3 separate regions of the Homo sapiens genome follow, and regions 2 and 3 are each linked to region 1. The links are contacts of gene promoters, found by promoter capture Hi-C in blood cells and fetal thymus (Javierre and others, 2016). All regions are on one chromosome and are shown on one strand. Each heading gives the region's core, a stretch centred on a gene start or on the middle of the fragment in contact. The rest is flanking DNA. Distances are from core to core; before and after follow the strand shown.

The links. Contacts are between HindIII fragments. The CHiCAGO score rates a contact against its expected background, and 5 or more counts as called.
Region 2: a fragment that was not itself captured here is called in contact with the fragment with the promoter of SMYD2 in region 1 in 2 of 17 cell types (M0 macrophages and M2 macrophages); the score reaches 6.9 in M0 macrophages.
Region 3: a fragment that was not itself captured here is called in contact with the fragment with the promoter of SMYD2 in region 1 in 4 of 17 cell types (naive CD8 T cells, M2 macrophages, activated CD4 T cells and 1 more); the score reaches 7.3 in naive CD8 T cells.

The regions. Positions count from the first base shown.
Region 1 is chr1:214,277,744-214,282,530 of GRCh38, forward strand. It overlaps SMYD2 (SET and MYND domain containing 2), which reads left to right and starts at 3,416. Exons shown (of 12, transcript NM_020197.3): 1 at 3,416-3,684. The coding sequence starts at 3,512. It overlaps LOC124904509 (a long non-coding RNA gene), which reads right to left and starts at 3,293. Exons shown (of 2, transcript XR_007066876.1): 1 at 971-3,293. RefSeq lists an enhancer at 2,371-2,936 and silencers at 3,216-3,505, 3,526-3,645, 3,676-3,835. The HindIII fragment of the contact is 17,351 bases long and covers 1-4,787 here.
Region 2 is chr1:213,125,562-213,129,941 of GRCh38, forward strand. It overlaps RPS6KC1 (ribosomal protein S6 kinase C1), which reads left to right. Exons shown (of 15, transcript NM_012424.6): 6 at 3,966-4,328. Among named protein-coding and RNA genes, the nearest start is that of RPS6KC1, 77 kb to the left of the region's middle. The HindIII fragment of the contact is 1,109 bases long and covers 1,343-2,451 here.
Region 3 is chr1:215,525,317-215,529,801 of GRCh38, forward strand. No RefSeq gene overlaps it. Among named protein-coding and RNA genes, the nearest start is that of KCTD3, 40 kb to the right of the region's middle. The HindIII fragment of the contact is 1,539 bases long and covers 1,665-3,203 here.

The DNA.
Region 1 (4,787 bases), core at 2,166-4,665:
TAACCAAAAACACTCCTTTCAAATTCCATACCTCCTACGTTATGGAGCAGAGGGCGTAGGAAAAGTGGATGGGTCCTGGCTGCTCAAAGACTTCACGGAATGTGAGATTACAGAGTGGCAGAGTGACAAGTATGGGCTTCATGAAGAGCGCTGTCATCAGTCTCCCCGGGCTGGTTTATTGCCATTCTTTGGCTGTTTATTTTAAACACAGTTTTCTTAGTAATTTAAGCTCCTAAATTCATGGCTACTGCTTCAGTGACCATTTCCCCATCTCGAGTCATTTAAGTTCATCACAGGGATTTTTCTGAAATGAGGCGGTTTCTTTTCCAGTGTTCTCAAATCACAGTCACCTCCACCCTCAAGAATAAGCCAGCACTCATCTGGAAAGATAATTCGGTAGCTATGTAATTGCTTTTTTCTCAGCTGTGGAAATCTTTCCCAATTAAAGTGGAAAAAGTTACTTGCAATAAAAAAAGTAAACAGGTAGATTACTTTGCACAATTAATCATTGAAACAGTAAACTGTCTACTGTATTGTAATTGTTTACTTCTACGTCAGTCTTTTCATCTTTTTGCTGGTTAGAGCCCCCAGAAATCAGAATGAGATTCCATGACGTTTATTCAACCTTTAAATATTTTTTCCATTCTCTCTGTGTTCCAGGAGTAGTGATAAGAGCTGGTGATGTAAGGGTAACAAAAACAGACTCATTCCCTGCCCTCATGGAGCTTGTACAGTCTGGTGGAGGATGTAAACACTAATCAGGTCATCACACAGACAAATGCAAACTGTCAGTGGTCTCACATGCCAAGGCTGTTTATATACATGTAAACAGTTATGAAGTGCTGAATGTTGGCACCCCAGCCAACCCACAATGCTGCTGGCAGATCAGTCTAAAACACTGGACTCAATGTGCCACCCCTCACTTAAACGCTTTAACTGGCTCTCCCATGGCCTCTGGGGCAGAACTCACCTCTGGAGAAGATGCTCTTCAGCTGTTCCTGCCTCATTTCCTGTCCTCTCTTCCAGATGCTCAGGGGCCCCCAACTACAAGCTCTGTGCTTTCAGGGTCTTCTGTCTTTGTACGCAGTTCTCTCTGCCCAGAAAACTCTTCTCCCCACCTCCACTTGCAAAATCCTGTCCATCCTTCAGGCTCAGCTCTAACGTTACTTGAATGTGATGCCTGTCTTGACTGTTTAGCAGGCTAAAGCTGTCACTCCCTGCCTGTACTACCACAGAACATTTTGTACAAGCCACCATAACTGCACTTATCCCAGTGAACTGTGTTTGTTTGCAGCAAAACACTGTGGTTAGGAACATGGACCTTGAATTCAGACTGACTTGGAAACCAAATTCTGCAATTTATTGTGTGGCCTTGAAAATCATTCCTTCTGGGTCTTAGTTTCCTTCCTAATTTTGGCAATGAGGGGCATAATACCTAACTCATTAGCCTGTTGTAAAGATAAACCAGATAATGTGTTTAATGATGGAGCACGATGCCTGGTCAACAATACTCAATAACTAATGGTATTATCAAACTTGAATGTGCCAAATGCAAGGACCTAGGACTACATTTTGTCCACTTTTTTTTTTTTTTTTTTTTTGAGACAGAGTTTCGCTCTTCTTGCGCAGGCTGGAGTGCAATGGTGCGATTTTGGCTCACAGCAACCTCCACCTCCCAGGTTCAAGCGATTCTCCTGCCTCAGCCTCCCGAGTAGCTGGGATTACAGGCATGCACCACCACACCTGGCTAATTTTGTATTTTTAGTAGAGATGAGGTTTCTCCATGTTGGTCAGGCTGGTCTTGAACTCTCGACCTCAGGTGATCCGCCTACCTCGGCCTCCCAAAGTGCTGGGATTACAGGCGTGAGCCACCACAGCCGGCTGATGTCCATCTTTCTATCCCAGTTGCTGGCCATAGTCAGTCGAAGTTTCTTAAAATGCATAAATGAAAATACTATCATAACTTCCTTTACTTGAAGACGGGTTAGAGGCTTATTTAGTTTGCCACTAATAAGGGCTTTTTTGTTTTCTTTTGAGACAAGGTCCTGCTCTGTCACCCAGGCTGGAGTATAATGGAGTCACCACAGCTCACTGCAACCTTGACTTCCCAGGCTCAAGCTATCCTCCCACCTCAGCACCACTTGAGAGGTGGTTAATTTCCCATAGAGACGGGGTCTTTATGTTGCCCAAGCTGGTCTCCAACTCTCCAATTCCTGGGCTCAAATGATCCTCCCACCTTGGCCTCCCACAGTGTTGGGATTACAGGGCTGAGCCACCACACCCAGCTGATAAAGACATTTTACTGAAATGCCAAAAATTCCACTGATTTTACATCTCCAATCATATTAATCCTTTCCCTTTGCTCAACCAGTCCTGAACTTACACAGGTAACTGTTTGAGGTCCTATTTTGAAGTAGTGGTTTCTGCTAAATGATCTCGTCACAATTTTAGTCTTTACTGCATGTACATCAATTCCAGTCTTTACATAATCATGTGGAACACGGATTATATTTTCCTTTCTCATATGAAAAGTAATAGCGTGCATGTGTATAGGATTTACGTTTCAGGCTTTGTGGGCTTTAAATCCTTTGACTCCTAACCCAAGTGACTTTTCTAAGATCACAGTTCGTGGGTGGTCAAGCATATTAAAACTACTGCAAACTCTAGCGCAGTGTCCTGGACACTGGCCACAGCATCGCATTATCCCCCAACAGCCTAAATTCCTTGAAGGCAAGGTTCTCTCTGGCTTCCTCTGCAACGTTCGCAGCATGCCTCAGAGACTCGGTGAGCTGGGCCGGCCAATGCATTTCCTCTTCCGTCCATGTAATTCCACTAGAGGAGCAGAGGGCAAACTACGTTCCCATTAAAGCCACAAGGTTTAAAAACCTCTAACCTTGGAAAAGCACACTTCAACCCTCTGCACACCAAACTTCTCTACTGTGGTTTCCCCTCTGCCGCTTTCTCCTTGGCGTTCCCCGATCACTGCCTCTAGGGTCTTTACAAGGGACAGCGAACGTAAGGTTTCGGAGCTGGCTTCGCCCCCTTCTATTTACCGGGGGCTGGTCATCCTTCGGGCCAGGCTGACTGTCTAGGGGTGGCCCTCGGATACCTGGTCCCCGCAGGTGACCCCCCTCCCTCCCACCGAGGAGGAGGGCGCGTCCCGCTCGCTCCGTGGAGACGCCGCGGAGGCGCACACGCCTCACGCCTCCTCGCAGAAGCCACAGGGGCTGCGGCTCTTTGTCGCGGCCACACCGGAAACGGCCCGGAGCGCGCGCGGGGCGGCCGCCGAGGGTCGCGGCGCTAGGCGGGGCCGCCGGGCCCGTCCCCCTCCCCGCGGGGGCGCGCGAGGCCCGGGCGGGGCCGCCCTCCCTTCCGGGGAGCGGGGAGCCGCCGCCGCGTCCGCCGGGCGGCTCCCACCCCGCCCCCCGCAGCTCTAGGTGACGCGTCTCCAATAACAGCTCGCCGGGAGCCGCAGCTCGGGCACAGCCGGCGGCCGCGCCCCGCCGCCACCATGAGGGCCGAGGGCCTCGGCGGCCTGGAGCGCTTCTGCAGCCCGGGCAAAGGCCGGGGGCTGCGGGCTCTGCAGCCCTTCCAGGTGGGGGACTTGCTGTTCTCCTGCCCGGCCTATGCCTACGTGCTCACGGTCAACGAGCGGGGCAACCACTGCGAGTACTGCTTCACCAGGTAGGGCGGCGGCGGCGGCGGCGGCGGGCGGGAGCCGGGGGCGCCGAGCGGGAGGCTTGGACGGCGGCGCCAGGAAGTGCGTGCGGCTCGCGGGGTCCTAGCGCCGGCCCTTGGGGCGGGGTGGGGGGCGGGGAGGGGAGGAGGCCCCGCGCTGCGGCCCCGCGCTGCAGCCCCACGCCAGGCGCCACGTGCGAGAGGAAACAGGACCGGTGCCCCGCTGCACGCCCTGCACTGCACGTTTTCAGAGTTGCTCACGCTGGATGCGCAAACCCGGGCGTGCAGGTTCCTGCCCTCAAATGTGGGCTCCGAGCCAGGCTTGTTCCAAGCCTGGGCACTCACTGCCCTCCCGGTGCATTGGCAGCGGAGCCCCAAATTTGGGCAGCCACGGGCTGTCACCTTTAACTTATGCTTCCTGCGGTGTGTTCTGTTACCCACAGTCCAGCCCTGCCTCAGATTGGCCGTTTCTTCCAAGGAATTTAATGACTTAGTATATGTCTTGTAAAGTACGCTTACATGTTAAAGTACGCTTACATGGGTGTTTGGAGGGACGCCAGTGGGCACTGACCACACCCCCTGGATTCTGAGGTGCTGCGACGATGAGTTGCAGTGTCCAGTTTCGGTTTGGGATTAGGAAAACATGGTCGCAGGAAGGGATTGGGCAAGATGTGTGGTTGCTAATGGTATTTAATTGTAAGATACCATATGTATATATGTGTCTGTGTTTGTATATATGATGCATATACATTTGCACACACCAACACATAATTATATCCTCAACTCTTATGAGAGTTTCAGAGCTTAAAGGCACATTAGAAATCACCAATTCAGTCTTGTCTTTCACTTAATGGATGAGAAAACTAAAGCCCAGAGAGAAAGTGGAGTTACCTTTATCCATTCACACCAGTAGTGAAGGGAGTGAAATCTGGCCTTATTCACTTCTGCCTATTTCTCACTGGTTAGGTGCTCAGTAAATTTACTAAGGCAGGAGGCATGGCATTGGGGTTAAGTTTATATCAGGCCTTCCAGTACTCTGAGTAGAGACCATGATTTGCTTTCTTTGAACCTCAGTTTCTTCATCTTTGAAATGGAGATTCCTGGGCTGG
Region 2 (4,380 bases), core at 647-3,146, 1.2 Mb before region 1:
GATGTCTTTTTATTTCTCTTTGCTTCTTCTGGTTTGGCTATATAAATTTCTCTTTTTTATCTGCTTGTGTGTGTGTGTGTGTGTGTGTGTGTGTGTGTGTTTGCTTGCTTTTAAAGATGCCGAATTAAGAAATTATTTAGAATTTGAAAAGGAATGCTTTGTATAGAATGTTTATTTACTTAATCTTACTATCTTTCTCTCTAGGTATTTTAATGGTCTTACTTTTTTGATCTAATCTCATTTAATCATGATTCTCATTGCTAATAAAATATGATTTGAAAGGTAAGAGGAAATATGACTATGGTACCAGTTTTTTGTGGTCAAAAGCCAAGAAACAGAGTATACATAACTTTGCCCGCTTGCCCTTTGGTGTTATTGTTATTGTTAAAAGGAAAAATGGGGCAAAACATGAAACAGAACAATGTGATAGATGGTGTGAAGGTTATAGTGACAAGATACCAGAGAACAGACAAAAGAGATCTCTAATACAGCATTTCCTTTCTTTTGTGATTAGCTATATAAACCAGAACTTTTTTCAACCTTATCTATTTGTTTATCAGTTTCAATGGGCTAGATTATATATTGGCATCATTTAAGGAAATAAGTTTACATTGAAATACATAAAATATTTAAAATGACAAGAAAAATCTCATAAAATTTATATATATTTCTTAGGATAGTAGATAAATAACTGTAGATTGCTATAAAAGATTCTTATTATGAAGTACTGTTACTGTCCGTATGGCTGAAATGTCAGAGGACTGAAAAGATTTTCACTAGGCTCAATGAATCTCATTTGAGATTGTCGGTTTAATGAAATCTGTTGCTTTTTGGGAATAGAATTTGTTCTTTTGGGGCATTCTAAGAAGTTGAAAAAAAGTTGAAAATGAGGATATATATTGACAGGGTGCCAAAGCAGCATCTAAAGCTGATTAGAAATTTGAGCTTAGTGGCCAGTAACATGTTTTTACCCTAACTTACTTTATTTGATATGAAGTAGGCAATTTGAATTTAAAATAGGGGTTGGCAAAACTATGTTCTATGGGCTGAATCTGGCCTGCCACCTGTTTTTGTATGGCCTGAAAACTAAGAATGGTTTTTGCATTTTTAAATAGTTAAAAAAATTAAAAGAATATGATTTTGTGGTTTTGTGATGGGAAAATTATAAGGAATTCACACTTCAATGTCTGTAAATAAAGTTTTACTGGAACACAGCCATGCTTATTCATTTATATATTGTCTATGGCTGCTTTTGCACTACAATGGCAGTGTTGAGTGGTGACAGAGACCACATATGGCCTGCAAAGCCTAAAATATTTACTTTCTGGCCCTTTATAGAAAAAGCTTGCTGATCCCTGATCTAGAATTGTATAGTCTAATCCACTTTTAATTTTGATTTAGTATATAATCCTGAGGATATCATTTTCTTTTTAATTTTTTTTTCCTGAGAAACTTGGCAGATAATGTTCAGTGGTGAATGCAGATCTCAGTTATTTCCAAACTAGTTTTTATATAACTCTGTTGTCAGTCTTATTTAATGGTATAGATCACTGGCTCTCAAATGTAATCTTCAGATCTCTGGGTGTTTCTGAGATATTTTCAGGGAGTTCATAAAGCAAAACTGTTTTGATAATAATGCCAGGACATTCTTTGTCTTTTCACCATATTGACATTTGCCCTGATGATGCAAAAGCCATGGTAGGTGAAACTGCTGTGCTTGGGCATGAATCAAGGCAGTGTCACCAAACCGTAACAGTACTCATTGCACATACTTATAAAACCAATGCTAATTTTTCCTAAGTAGTAGAAACTGTTACATTTTGTTAAATCTTAACCCTTGTCACTTGTCTTTTTAATATGCTGTGTGAAAAAATGAGAATTATACATAAAGCACTCTGCATACTGAACTACCATGGTCGTCTTGAGGAAAAGCACTTATGCAGTTGTTTGAGCCATTAGCTGAACTAGCTGCTTTTTTCATGGGACACCATTTTGCTTGAAAGAACAATTAACAAACTGTCATTATTCAGACTTGTGTATTTGGCACTTTTTTTCTTGAAAGGGAGTGAAGTAAGCTGACACTTCAAGGAAAACAACTGATATTATTTGTTGCCAATCATAAAATTGGAGTTTTCAATTCAAAATTAGGATTTTCAGATAACCTCTGTCTGCCACTTTGGGTTTGACAGTTTCCCAATACTTAGTTTTCTGATGAGATTGGTAGATAATGAAATGTTGACATATGATTTTTTGGGATAATGAAATGTGCTGTCAACATTTCGAAGATCTTTATAACTAAGGGAACCAGTATTTTCAGGATGACCAATGTGTGATGTTATAAATTCATGCACAGATAAAAGATCCATTCAGTGTGCAAGACAGACCAATGGATTTGAATGTAACAGAAACAGAAATTTCATTCATAGGATTTTATATTCCACATTACAACTAAGCTTTAAAAACCTATCACTTGTTGAGTTTTGGTGTAGTATCAAAGAACAATATTCATAATTATTTGAAAAGGCTAATACTTGTTTCTTTTTCAGTTACATTATCTATGTGACATTTCCTTCATATCTTTCATCCAAAACAACATATGACAACAGATTGTGAGCAGAATCAGATATGAGATTCTAGCTATCTGCTGTTAATCCAGACATTAACAAAAATGTAAAACAATGTAAAACAGTGCAAAAATGTAAAACAATGCCACTTCTTTCACTAACTTTTTTTGTTTTGGAAAATATAGTTATTTTTCATAAAAATTATGTTAACATGTAATGGGGCTTTAATGCTTTATTTTATACATTTCTAGACTTCTTTTGTAAATATCAATATTGGTATTTAATAAATATTCACAGATACAATTCACATGAACAAAAGCTTTTTAGAGTCCACAATCATTTTGAAGAATATAAAAGGCTGTCCTGGGAGCAGAAAGTCTGATATGTATTGTGGATCGTGCTCATTTACCATGATGTCAGTTATATGAACTAGGAGAAGGAATTTTCACTGCTAAATAATTCAGTAGCACCTATTACCTCTTTTTTGTCTGAAAACTAAGGTGGAAATATACCTTTCCAGAAGCTTGTAGAAGAGGCTGAGATGAAAATGTCTAAAAATTCAGTTTTTAAAAAATGCTAAATAGCATACATTTTCCAGTTACGGATGGTTACCTAAAAGCACACTTCTGAGGACGCATTGTGTAGTTGTTATATAGTTACAGGTTGAGTATCCCTAATCTGAAAATCTGAAATCTGAAACACTTCTGTCCCGAGCATTTCAGATGAAGGATATTCAACCTGTTTATGTAATTGTTATAAAAGTTATAATATAATGATAGTCTATTATGCTTTATATGCATTAACTCTATTCCTCATTTAAAGACTTGCATAATAAGTAATACTATTAAGTAACCTGCTGTTGGTCACACAGTAAGTTTTAAGAGCTGGCGCTGGGCTTGGTGGCTCATGCCATCTAAGCTACTCGGGAGGCTGAAGTGGGAGGATTGCTTGAGCCCACGAGTTGGAGTGCAGCTGGGCAACATGGCAAGATGCTGTTCTCAAAAACAAAAACAAAACAAAAAAAAGAGAGCTGAGATTCAAGTGCTTTTTCCTTTATTAAAATGCTATTATTTATAGCAACTATGTGTACAGGCAACAGCTTTCTGTAAATAGCTTACAGGATCTTGTGGTAAAGGCTCTTTTTGGCAACCAAACTAGATAAAGATTTGTCTTCAATTTTAGTTTGATGATTAAGGCAAGAAGTTGTCTTCCAGAGTTACAGAGAGACAGTAAAATGAATGGACTAAGCCTAAACAAATTGCTAGACACTGACTTCCATCAGTAAATTACAGCCTTCCAAATTGACTTGGATAATATGAAAAATGAATAATTAGCATGATTTGTATTCGTTTGGCTGATTCTCAATTTAATATCTGTTTACTATTGTGATCATATTTCTAGGCTTCTCCAGTGACAGTGATCTGGTATCTCTTACTGTTGATGTGGATTCTCTTGCTGAGTTAGATGATGGAATGGCTTCCAATCAAAATTCTCCCATTAGAACTTTTGGTCTCAATCTTTCTTCGGATTCTTCAGCACTAGGGGCTGTTGCTTCTGACAGTGAACAGAGCAAAACAGAAGAAGAACGGGAAAGTCGTAGCCTCTTTCCTGGCAGTTTAAAGCCGAAGCTTGGCAAGAGAGATTATTTGGAGAAAGCAGGAGAATTAATAAAGCTGGCTTTAAAAAAGGAAGAAGAAGACGACTATGAAGCTGCTTCTGATTTTTATAGGAAGGGAGTTGATTTACTCCTAGAAGGTGTTCAAGGTATGGTTTTATGTATATTATGTTTTGGCATGCTCTTTTGTTGGTATGTGGG
Region 3 (4,485 bases), core at 1,184-3,683, 1.2 Mb after region 1:
GAAAAGAAAACTACCTCTTGTGAAGTAGGTGAAAATTCTAACTTCATAAGATGTTCTTAAAAGCATCATCAAGGTCCTGGCGCAGTGGCTCATGCCTGTAATCCCAGCACTTTGGGAGGCCGAGGTAGGCAGATCACGAGGTCAGGAGATCGAGACCATCCTGGCTAACTCGGTGAAACCCCGTCTCTACTAAAAATACAAAAATTAGCCCGGAGTGGTGGCAGGTGCCTGTAGTCCCAGCTACTCAGGAGGCTGAGGCAGGAGAATTGCTTGAACCTGGGAAATGGAGGTTGCAGTGAGCCAAGATCGCACCATTGCACTCCAGCCTGGGCAACACAGCAAGAGCGAGACTCTGTCTCAAAAAAAAAAAAAAAGGATCATCAAGATGGTATATTTCATGCACTTTTCAGATGCTCTTCAATTTCCATAACTCACCATATTTGGTTTTGCTTACGTCATTAGTTTTTAACCATAAAATAAGTTCTAGAAAGTTCTTAAATAAGATTGTCTACATATTCTATATTACATTATTGTCATAAAATTAACATAATGACTTTAAACTTAAAAACGTTTTCCACATTCACAAAAACAATGTAATTAACTTAGGAAGTTTAAAACTTTGTCTTTAAGCATTGTTTTAACACTTGCATCTGGGTGGGTGCGGACAACATTGGAAAAGTGTGGAGAGGAAGAAGAAGACAGCTTTTTTTGATACATTTTGGACCAGTCAGACAATATCTTAGTCCAATGGGTAGCAGTGTTTATACATATTCAGGTAAGATTAAGGTTCATTCAGCAAACTGCTATTGGTTCCCTGTATGTAACAGGCACCTCTGCCAGGCTAAAGACCCCATTCCCTGTGCTCAGAAGTGCCCAGAGAGATTGGGAGACAGACACATGAATAAACTATTGGACAATGGGCTCGTGCTGTACTGGAGATGTGCACGCAGGGTGCAGAGATGTAGGGAAGAATCACAGAGGAGATGGTCTTCTCTGCCCTTAGGATAAAGGGGAAGTGGAAGACCTGACCAAGAAGGTAACACCTGGGAAACAGGATCTCAAGAAATTCCAAGCCCAAGGATAACAAGTAAAGGTGTGGTTGAAAACAATGTTAGAAACTGGGAGGTGATTCTGTCTAGTGTGTTTGGTAGGCCATTTCTAGGTCTCCATTATGTCTTTTCCATTACTCTGTTTTGTTATCGTGTATCTTTAAAGTGTTTTGCAGCAGAAAATAAAACAAGGAAAAGAATGGTTGAATCACTTTTTAAAAATCATGCATTACATTATTGTGATCCAGGGATATCCTATTATGTGTTTATTCCTAAGTGTAAGACGTGTCTTCAAGCTATTGCATTGGAGAGGTACCGTGTTTGCATTAGAAGACAAACGGCCTAAAAAAGGTGCACAATTTTTGGGAGAATGCTTCCATCTAGTGGTCAAATTGAGAAATTCACTTACATGTATTCGTTATATTTCTTAAAAATATTTGTTAATCTGTTATATACCAAATCAATATGTTTCTGTTCATTAATAGTTAATAATTTCTCATTTACTTTTAACTATTGGAGGATATAACAATTTAATTTTATTTGGCCTGTTGGTTCTCAAGGAGGTAGTGTCTCCAAAGAAAAATAAGATCCTCAAAAGAAGGCCATATTTGTTAAAGCTTTCATACACCTTGTCTCATTCAATATTCAGAGCCACATTGTAAAAAAATAAAAACTTTTACTATTATTCCATTTTATACATAAAGAAATGGAAACATAACAGGGTCAGTAATTTCACCTAACACCACCATGCAAAGAATTAACTTGTCAGGATGACTTCAGTTCTGGTGTTCTTTTCTCTTGATGCATTAAAGATGATTATTTTATCATTAACTCTGTTGATAAAGTTACAAGTTCTTTATGTGATGTGAGTAACATCTGTTTTGTAAGTTTGGAATGTGAAATGCATAAGGTCTTCATAATGTAGATGAATTAGTCAGTACAGGCTACTTAATGATGGAGTAACAAACCCAACTCTTAAATCTCAGTAGTTTAACATGATGGAAGTGTATTTCGCACTTTGGTTCAGCAATAAACTCACATCTTCCATTGTCTAGCTGAAGGGAAATGTAAAATAAAAGGTAGCAAATTGAAGGTTTGGGGAGGATTATGCTCTGCTGCAGAGATGGATTCCATTTTTCTCAAATATTAAGTATATTAAAGTATATAAATATTTTTTCAAATATTAAGTATACAAAGTATAAATATTTTGGATTGTGTGGGTTAGAAAAACATTTATGTGCTTTTGCTTTTTTTTCCCTTTCAAACAGCTTCTCGCTCTGTTGCCCAGGCTGGAGGGCAGTGGCATAATCATAGCTCACTGTAACCTCAAACTCCTAGGCTCAAGCTAGCCTCCCGCCTCAGCCTCCCGAATAGCTGGGACTACTGCTACTACTGCACAATGACACTCAGCTAATTTTTAAATCTTTTTGTAGAGACAGAGGTCTCACTCTGTTGTGCAGGCTGGTCTTGAGCTCCTGGCCTCTGGAGATCCTCCTGCCTTGGCCTCCCAAAGTGCTGGGATTACAGGCATGAGCGCTGCATCTGGCCTGCTTTTGCTTTTATTTGTATTTTTTTTTCTCTGAGGGACCTCAAGATCACAGAATTGTATTAATCTTAATCCTTGGCTCATGGCACACTTATTGATGGTTTCTGCATATCTCTCCTCCATTAATTATGCATGTACGTATGTGTGTATTTTAATAATGTAACAAGCACCTGTGGACCTAACAGCCAATATGGAAGCTGAAACTTTGGCAATCAGTCACATCTAGCTGTGTGGTCCCCATCCCTTCTATCTGCTACCCCTTTCCCAAGGTAACTACCATCCTAAATATGGTGTGCATTTTCCTTCTCTCTCTTTTTAACATGGTCTTATTCGATCTGTCTATCTGTTTTTTAAAGGCATATATTTTTATTTTAGTTATTTATCTCAATATTATGTTAGGATTCCTCTGTGTTGCTGCACATCATCACAGTTCATTCACTGAGTGTCGCATTATAGTATTTTGTGTGACTATAACAGATCATTCATCTACTGTCTTTGAGGATGTGAATTTGGGATTTTCTCCAATTTTTGCTGTTGTAAACAATGTCAGACAAGATCTCCATGTACCTTTGGGGATTCATCTCCTAATAATATTTTCTTTCTGGCCAAGCTTACATCCTCACCTGTCTCTTAAAAATGCCATTGTATTTCCTGATCCTGCACTTTGCTCCTATTTTGTCTGTCCCTCTACACTTCTTTCTGCACATGAATTCTACACATTATCCAAAGCCAGTATGAAATTTCACCCTTTCTATGAAATTTCCGATTACCACTATAATTTGTAGGATTGGTTTTTGCCTCTGAATGCTTGGGATAAAACATGTTTTATCCCAAACGCACTATTTGGTAAATATTATAACAATCATTCATTAACCACCTATAACATGCCAGACATGAATCCAAGAACTAGCCCTAGATCGTTTTATTTCTTTCTCAATACAACAGTATAATGTGGGGATTATCATTATTACTATTTTTCAGTCCAGTAATTACACATTAATCATTCTAAGGGTCTGATTGCTGAAAGGACTCAAGGCTCCGTTTATCATCACCAGGCAAGAGATACCTATGGCAATGGCAGGAGAAGGACATGCATTCAAAATGGTCCCAAAATGTTAGGCACAGGTTTCCTTGTCCTCTTTCCACTGGGTAGGGTCATACCAACTTCACTTAGTCTCTAGGTCTCAAACCACCATCAGCATCTGGAAGTCCAAAGTCCGTTCTTGGTAAGGAATCTCTCACCATAACCTGGTCACTAGGCACATCTCAGCTATGTGACCAGCCTTAACTGTTGAAACATCACCCCCTGCTCCCAACCTCTACTGAAACCAGATGCAAATCATAAATCCGGTTATTTCTAAACAATGATGACACACTGATACATCCTGCTCCAGAACAACTCACAGACCCATACAGAATAGCATTTGTCTTTAGTTAATAAGTACTATAGCATTAGCCAAGGGTCAGTAGCTCCCTGCATAAGAGCATGAACAATCCAGACCAGTTGAGATTAACCCCAACTGTGCACGCAGGTAAGGAAACCAAGGCTTAGAGAAGTGAAGTACTATCTTCCCCGAGGTCATCCCTCAAGAGTGATGGAGTTGTTCAGGGAAACTCCAGGGCCTGTGCCCTTTGGCAAGCTCTGAGCTATTCTGACTCTTAATGCAGTTAGTTGTGGCTTGCCCCATCCACAAGATAGCATGTATTATGAAGAAAAGTTGTTTGTCTGCATCTTTGTATTTCTCCCAGCATCTAGCATAGTCCTACATGTAAGTAATATGCACCAATAAACAGCTGGGCAGAATGACTAGCACACTTTCTCCTAGCTAGTGGGTAAGTTATCTCATGGCTCCCAGATGAGCAAAGCTCTGTTTTATCTCTGTACCTCTG